2 separate regions of the Homo sapiens genome follow, and region 1 is linked to region 2. The links are contacts of gene promoters, found by promoter capture Hi-C in human tissues and cell types (Jung and others, 2019). All regions are on one chromosome and are shown on one strand. The core of a region is centred on a gene start or on the middle of the fragment in contact, and the rest is flanking DNA. Distances in the headings are between cores, read along the strand shown. Region 1 overlaps SMIM3 (small integral membrane protein 3). Region 2 holds the start of GPX3 (glutathione peroxidase 3).

Region 1 (3,168 bases), core at 642-3,141, 240 kb before region 2:
TTTACTTGTATTAACTCATTTAGGCTTTACCACAATCCTATTAGGGAGGGACTGTCATCACCTCCATTTTATGGATGAGGAAACTGAGGTCCAGAGAGAGTGACTCACCCATGATCACACAGAAAGTAAGTGGCAGAGCTGTAATTTGAACGCAGGCACCCTGGCTCCAGGGCCTATTCTCTGAACTTCATTGGAATTGGGGGGAACTAGGTTCAGATCTTGCCTCTGTCACTTACTTTCAGGGTGACCTGAGAGAAGTTAAGTGAGAATTTGATAGTCACTGTTCTAGTGGATCCCTAGAGACCTAGTATCCTTCCAACTCACTAGGGAAACAGAAGGTGAACCTCAAGAGATAATGGAGACATCTAGCAGTAAAGGCTAAGAATTAGGTAGTTAGGAAGGGGAACTGCTCAGAAGTATAATTGCCTGGCACATTAAACAACAGCAAGCTAGATTCCACGTCTAAACCATATACTTTAAATTGCTTAGTTGTGTATAGATAGAGCTTCCTTATTTTATTGATTTGCACTCTGATTGGCTGATTGGATATGTTTCTTGCTAGTGACCCACTATATAGGATCATATTCAAGATTCTGGGGACCAGGACATAGATGTCTTTGGTGGTGGTGGTGGTGGGCATTATTCTGCTTTCCACACACATGAGGCTGACTTTGGGAGAGCGACCTGTTGAGGCTCACACATTGAGGCAAGGCACTACCACCGCCCGGTGCTCTTGCAGCTCTGTCACGGAGCACCCTGCCAGCACCTCTCATGGACAGTCTCCTTTGTTAGCCCGACACACAGCAGGCACTTAGTCACTGGCAAATAGCAATGATGGATAGTAGTGCCTTAAACAGGATGCTGGGGATTTGGCCTGGGCTTTCTCCTCTGCTAGCTCTCTGTTGGTTTCTAAGACTCTGTGATTGGCTGGGTCAGATGGTACGTGCGGTCTTACACAGCTCTGGCTGTGTTCCGATCTCTTTGAAATATCTTGGTGTTTTTCCATTTTTCCAGCCACAGAGGAGCAGATGGAAACTCAGGCAGGTCTGTAGTCTGTTAGGAAGTTTGGAGAGACAGGGGCCAGTTGGGGTGAAATGAGAACAGAGTGCTCCTTAGGGACTTTGGGTCATTGGAGAAAAGGCTGTGATTTGATTCATTTCACATTTTTGGTAGTTGTATGTCCTGTCCATTCCTTCCTCTGGCCCCTTTATTTGGACCAAAGGTCCCTGGTGAAATGACTGTGCTGGGTTGGTAAATGTTTGAGGCTGTTACACAGTGGGAGGAGAAATACTTCCAAGAGTAAATGTGAAGCTGGTATGTCCTTCTCATATTGGACTTGGCATGGGAAACCTGCCCCCACTTTTATCAGCCTCCCTGACCTCTTCTAAGAACAGAAAGATTCACATCTTGGGCAACATCACTGCTCCCCTCACCCCTGGTCCCTCCTCCCCACCTCAGTCCCCAGCTCCTGAGCACATGGAGTCAGAACTCGAATTTGAGCTTATCGGCCCAAGCAAATCAACAAGTGGGAATCCTAGAGGGCTTCGTTCTGAAAGGCCAGTTCTCTTCTGCCTGGTATGTACAGGGTGGGCTGGGGAAGAAAGAGCCCCCCATAATCCTTCCTGAATGTACAAAGAGCCCAGAAAATGATAAAATCAGAGGACATCATGTTATTTTGGAGATAGTGTTCTGACTTTTAGAATCACTGGGACTTTTGCAGGGATGAGGATTCTTTCTGGACCTCTTCAGTCAATTAGGTTCCACGAGTGAGCTCACATCTGAAATAATCTTCCCATATTCATTTCTTCATTGATTTCATATTTGTTGGCACTTGTGATATGCCAGGCCCTGTGATAGGTGCTGAGGACACAGCAATACACAAGAGGTGAGGCTTCTGCTCTCCCTGTGCTTGCGTTTGAGGGAGCAAATGAACAAGTCTTTAGCCTGATAGGAAAAAAGCCAATAAAAACAAACAAGCAACAAACAAGCTAATTTTAGATTGTGAAAAGCATATGCAGAAAATAAAACAAGATAAGAGTGATAGTTTAACAGAGTGGGTCGGGAAAAACTTTACTAAAACGTAACATTTAGGTTGAGGTCATGGACATTGAGACAATGGACAGGGGAGGAAAAGAGCATTCTGAGAAGGAACAGCAAACACAAAGTTCTTCAAGTGGGATCAGCCCCTGGGACACAGTTGTTAGGTTCCCCAGGCTACAAAGTGGCCAGTGTGGCCCCATCTAGGAACTTGAATTGCCCTCTCTGGCTTAAATGTTCCATTCTTCCTTGACAACCTCAGCAGCATCTTCTGAGGGTGGAGACTTTTTGGAAGGGGTCCTATAAGGTGGACAATGCTGGCAAACCCTCTAGTCCTGTGCCCTGGGAACCATCAGCCTTGTTCACATTCTGCAAAATACTTGAAGAGTCATGTATCTTTGGACGCCTCAGCATCAGTGACTTGGAGCTGGTTATAGCTGTCTGCTCTCTGGCCACCGTGGCTGGTGGAAACAAAACAGCAGCAGCATGGTCTGCCCAGAGTTCTGGCAGTGCTGGGCTAAGGCCACACCTGCAGGAAGCCACCTGCCTCTATCTGCCTTGTCTCCCACTTTGAGATAATTAAGCTTGCCTGCCAGCAGGCAGTCACTTCTTTTATTGCCTTCTTCCTCAGTGAACTCTGGCAGTAAAACCGGTTGGATAACCATTGGCAAGCTCTCAAAAGTTGACTGTTAGTTGCAGCTCGGATGTGGAGGGTGTAAGTTTCCGGTGGGAGGTTCAAGCTGGGGACAGCTTAAAATTTTTTTACTTAAAAAAACTTTTCACTGTGGTTTCCTACATTGGGCCCAGATCAGTCACGAAGCAGTCACGGCACCCTAACTAATGGCAGAGGCTTTGAACTCCCTTTTTTTTTTTTTTTTTTTTTTTGATACGGAATCTCACTCTGTCACCAGGCTGGAGAGCAGTGGTGTGATCTTGGCTAACTGCAACCTCCACCTCCTGGGTTCAAGCGATTTTCCTGCCTCAGCCTCCCGAGTAGCTGGGACTACAGGTGTGCACTACCACACCCAGCTAATTTTTGTACTTTTAGTAGAGGCAGGGTTTTACCATGTTGGCCAGGATGGTCTCCATCTCTTGACCTTGTGATTTAGGAACGATGCCGGGTTCACTAGC
Region 2 (2,803 bases), core at 271-2,770:
CAAAACTTGAGAGACATCTTCCAAATTCCCAGGGGGATGTTAATACCTTTAATCATAGTAAAGGTATGGTTTCTCAAGGCATTTCTTGGTCAGAAGAAAGTTCCAGAAGGCACTTAATCCTAGGACTCACACTACCAAGGCTACAGCCAGGCCAACTGCCTCACAATAACCTTAGAACATGTCTGAAGACAGATTTTCAGCTTCTGCCCCTAGAGATTCTAATGCAGTGATTCCAAAGTGGGGTCCAGGAATCTGTATTAAAGGCTTCCCAGTTGACTCTGGTGGTCAGAGAGATTTGAGACTGATTCCATCACATTCCCCATCTGTGAACGGGATCATACCTAGACAGCCCAGCCCTAGAACTGCCTGGTCTGATCCTAAGTGTTCCATGGAGATTTTGTTTTTTTAATGTAATGAATGATTAAGTCAGCAAATACTTTACATCTCTTGTGTGCTAGGCCCTGTGCCAGGTGGTGATTATGGGCCCTATTCTCAAAGGACTCCTGGTCTCCGTCTGTCACTTACTTTAGAAACAAGTCATCTAGCCAGAGCCAGAAGGGCACTGGAGATCACTAATCAATCCCATCATTACATAGCTGAGGAAACTGAGGCCCAGAGAGTAACTGCAACATGTTAAAGACTACACAGGGAGCAAATTTATTTTCTGCTTCTAAGCCAGGTGGTTTGGCCACAGATAGGCCAAGAAGAATACGAACAGACAAGCCTTGCTGGGTTTCCCACTCAGTTTATTACTATTAGACCATTCCCTTTTTCCCCACTCACATTTCTGCGCATTTCCATGGTCTTCATAGAATCTAAGCCTAAAAATAGAGTTTTCCTTGAGTCTTTGGGTCTTCATTTCTGAAGACTCTCATGTCACAGAAAACTTTAATTAAATAAATCGTTATGCTTTTCTCTTGCTAACCTTTTTCTACAGGCATGTCAGCTGTGATCCTTATGATGGGGAGGAAAGGCACCCCACCTTCTCTGTCCCTACAGTCCTAATGCCCTACCCAGAATGGGGTTTTCAAAATCCCAGGACACCCACTCTTTGTTTCTTAAGCACTAAACCTATATATAGTAAATGTTTCTGGAAGTTTAACTTCAGCTCTTGCTGAAATTTTAAACCCTCAATTTCCAGAGGACCATCGCCAGGTGTTTTTAAAACCTCGATAGGAATAAGAAATGCTTCCCAGAATGGAGACTTCCATCAGTTCTAGGGAGCTATTAGCCCCCTTGCCCTGGCTGTAATGGAGACCGCTGTGTCTGCCTCCTTTCGCACTTTGGAGCCAAAAGAGGAAGGGACCGCCTCCCACGTCCACAGGGACCTGACTTCCACCTCTCTGCCCAGATTTGCTTATGTCACTGTCGCCCCGGGACGGGGAGGTGGGGAGCTGAGGGCAAGTCGCGCCCGCCCCTGAAATCCCAGCCGCCTAGCGATTGGCTGCAAGGGTCTCGGCTTGGCCGCGGATTGGTCACACCCGAGGGCTTGAAAGGTGGCTGGGAGCGCCGGACACCTCAGACGGACGGTGGCCAGGGATCAGGCAGCGGCTCAGGCGACCCTGAGTGTGCCCCCACCCCGCCATGGCCCGGCTGCTGCAGGCGTCCTGCCTGCTTTCCCTGCTCCTGGCCGGCTTCGTCTCGCAGAGCCGGGGACAAGAGAAGTCGAAGGTGAGTGAGCCTCCGGGCCGGGGGCCGGGAGAAAAAACCTAGCCCCTCGGTGTCCAGCGCTCAGTGCAATGCACCCCTTTTCCCAGGCTCCCCGCCAGATGGGCAATCCCCAGGTGCGAGAGACCTCCTGAACCCCTTTTGCCGCCCCCTCCGCCGCCGGGACCCCGCCCCCGACCGTCGTCGTCTCGTAGTTCCATCTGTTGGAGAGCCGAGACCTGGTGCTTCAGGCGGGCAGAATGACTAAGGGAGGAAGGTCTCTCTCCCCGAGCTCGCACTTTCTCCCCACTGCCACCTCGAGGGTCGCCTTGCTACATCTATGTCACCTCCGTGCCTGAGCTGCTCCCCTTCAGTAGGGCCTAAGAGGGAGGGCGTCACAGAAAAAAATGCCCAGCGTCTGGGTGGGCTGTGCAAGTTCCCAGGGAGAGAGACAAGGAGAAAGGAGAGAGGCAGCTGGGTGGTCCTGGTCCTGAAGAACTGCTGTGGGGGGCTCTTCTACCCCAAGAATGATACAGGCAGGTAGAAATGGCCACTTGGATTCAGGGCATTGGTAGAAGAGGCAGAGATCTGTGCTAGAAAGAGCTCTGGAGTGACAGTGCAGAACACTCAGGACCCTGAGTCCTTACCTGCTCCTGGACCCCCGTTTCTCCATCTGCAGGGGAGAGTTTGGGGGTGGGAGTGCATGGGGCACAATGAAGCTGAGGGCCTCAGAGGGGATGCTTGGAGAAGCTGAAAAATCCACAAGCTGTTCTCTGAAATTTCCTCCCCTGGGGCAGCCTCACTACCCAGGACCCACTGTCCTCATTAGCCTGAGGAAACCTGGTAGTTGGAGAAAGCTGGGGACTGCTAATTCAGAAGAAGAGGTAGAATTCTCTAGAGCCTCAGTCTATTTCCAGCAGGTGTGTGGCCCACACCTGGAGTGGGGATACTGAGGCCAGGAGTGGGATGACCCAGCATGCTTATCTCCTTTGACAGTATGTACTGGGGTGGGCTCTGTAGACCTCTCCTCTACCCAGGGAGTGGGAGTGGGTGGGGAAGGAGGCAGAAGCCAGGTGTAGGGATAGACTCAAAGCGAGCGATTTCTGTCTCCAACTTCCCAACATGCATAACTCACATTTTTGCAAGCTCTGAGCTT

What was found. The method cuts DNA at HindIII sites, captures the fragments that hold promoters and counts their contacts. A contact is called where the count stands out against the background at its distance.
Region 1: a fragment that was not itself captured here is called in contact with the fragment with the promoter of GPX3 in region 2 in 1 of the 25 tissues and cell types used here (pancreas).

The regions. Positions count from the first base shown.
Region 1 is chr5:150,781,016-150,784,183 of GRCh38, forward strand. The region is part of intron 1 of SMIM3 (small integral membrane protein 3); the gene reads left to right. Among named protein-coding and RNA genes, the nearest start is that of SMIM3, 3.8 kb to the left of the region's middle. The HindIII fragment of the contact is 5,049 bases long and covers 1-3,168 here.
Region 2 is chr5:151,019,071-151,021,873 of GRCh38, forward strand. It overlaps GPX3 (glutathione peroxidase 3), which reads left to right and starts at 1,521. Exons shown (of 5, transcript NM_002084.5): 1 at 1,521-1,671. The coding sequence starts at 1,585. The HindIII fragment of the contact is 19,688 bases long and covers 1-2,803 here.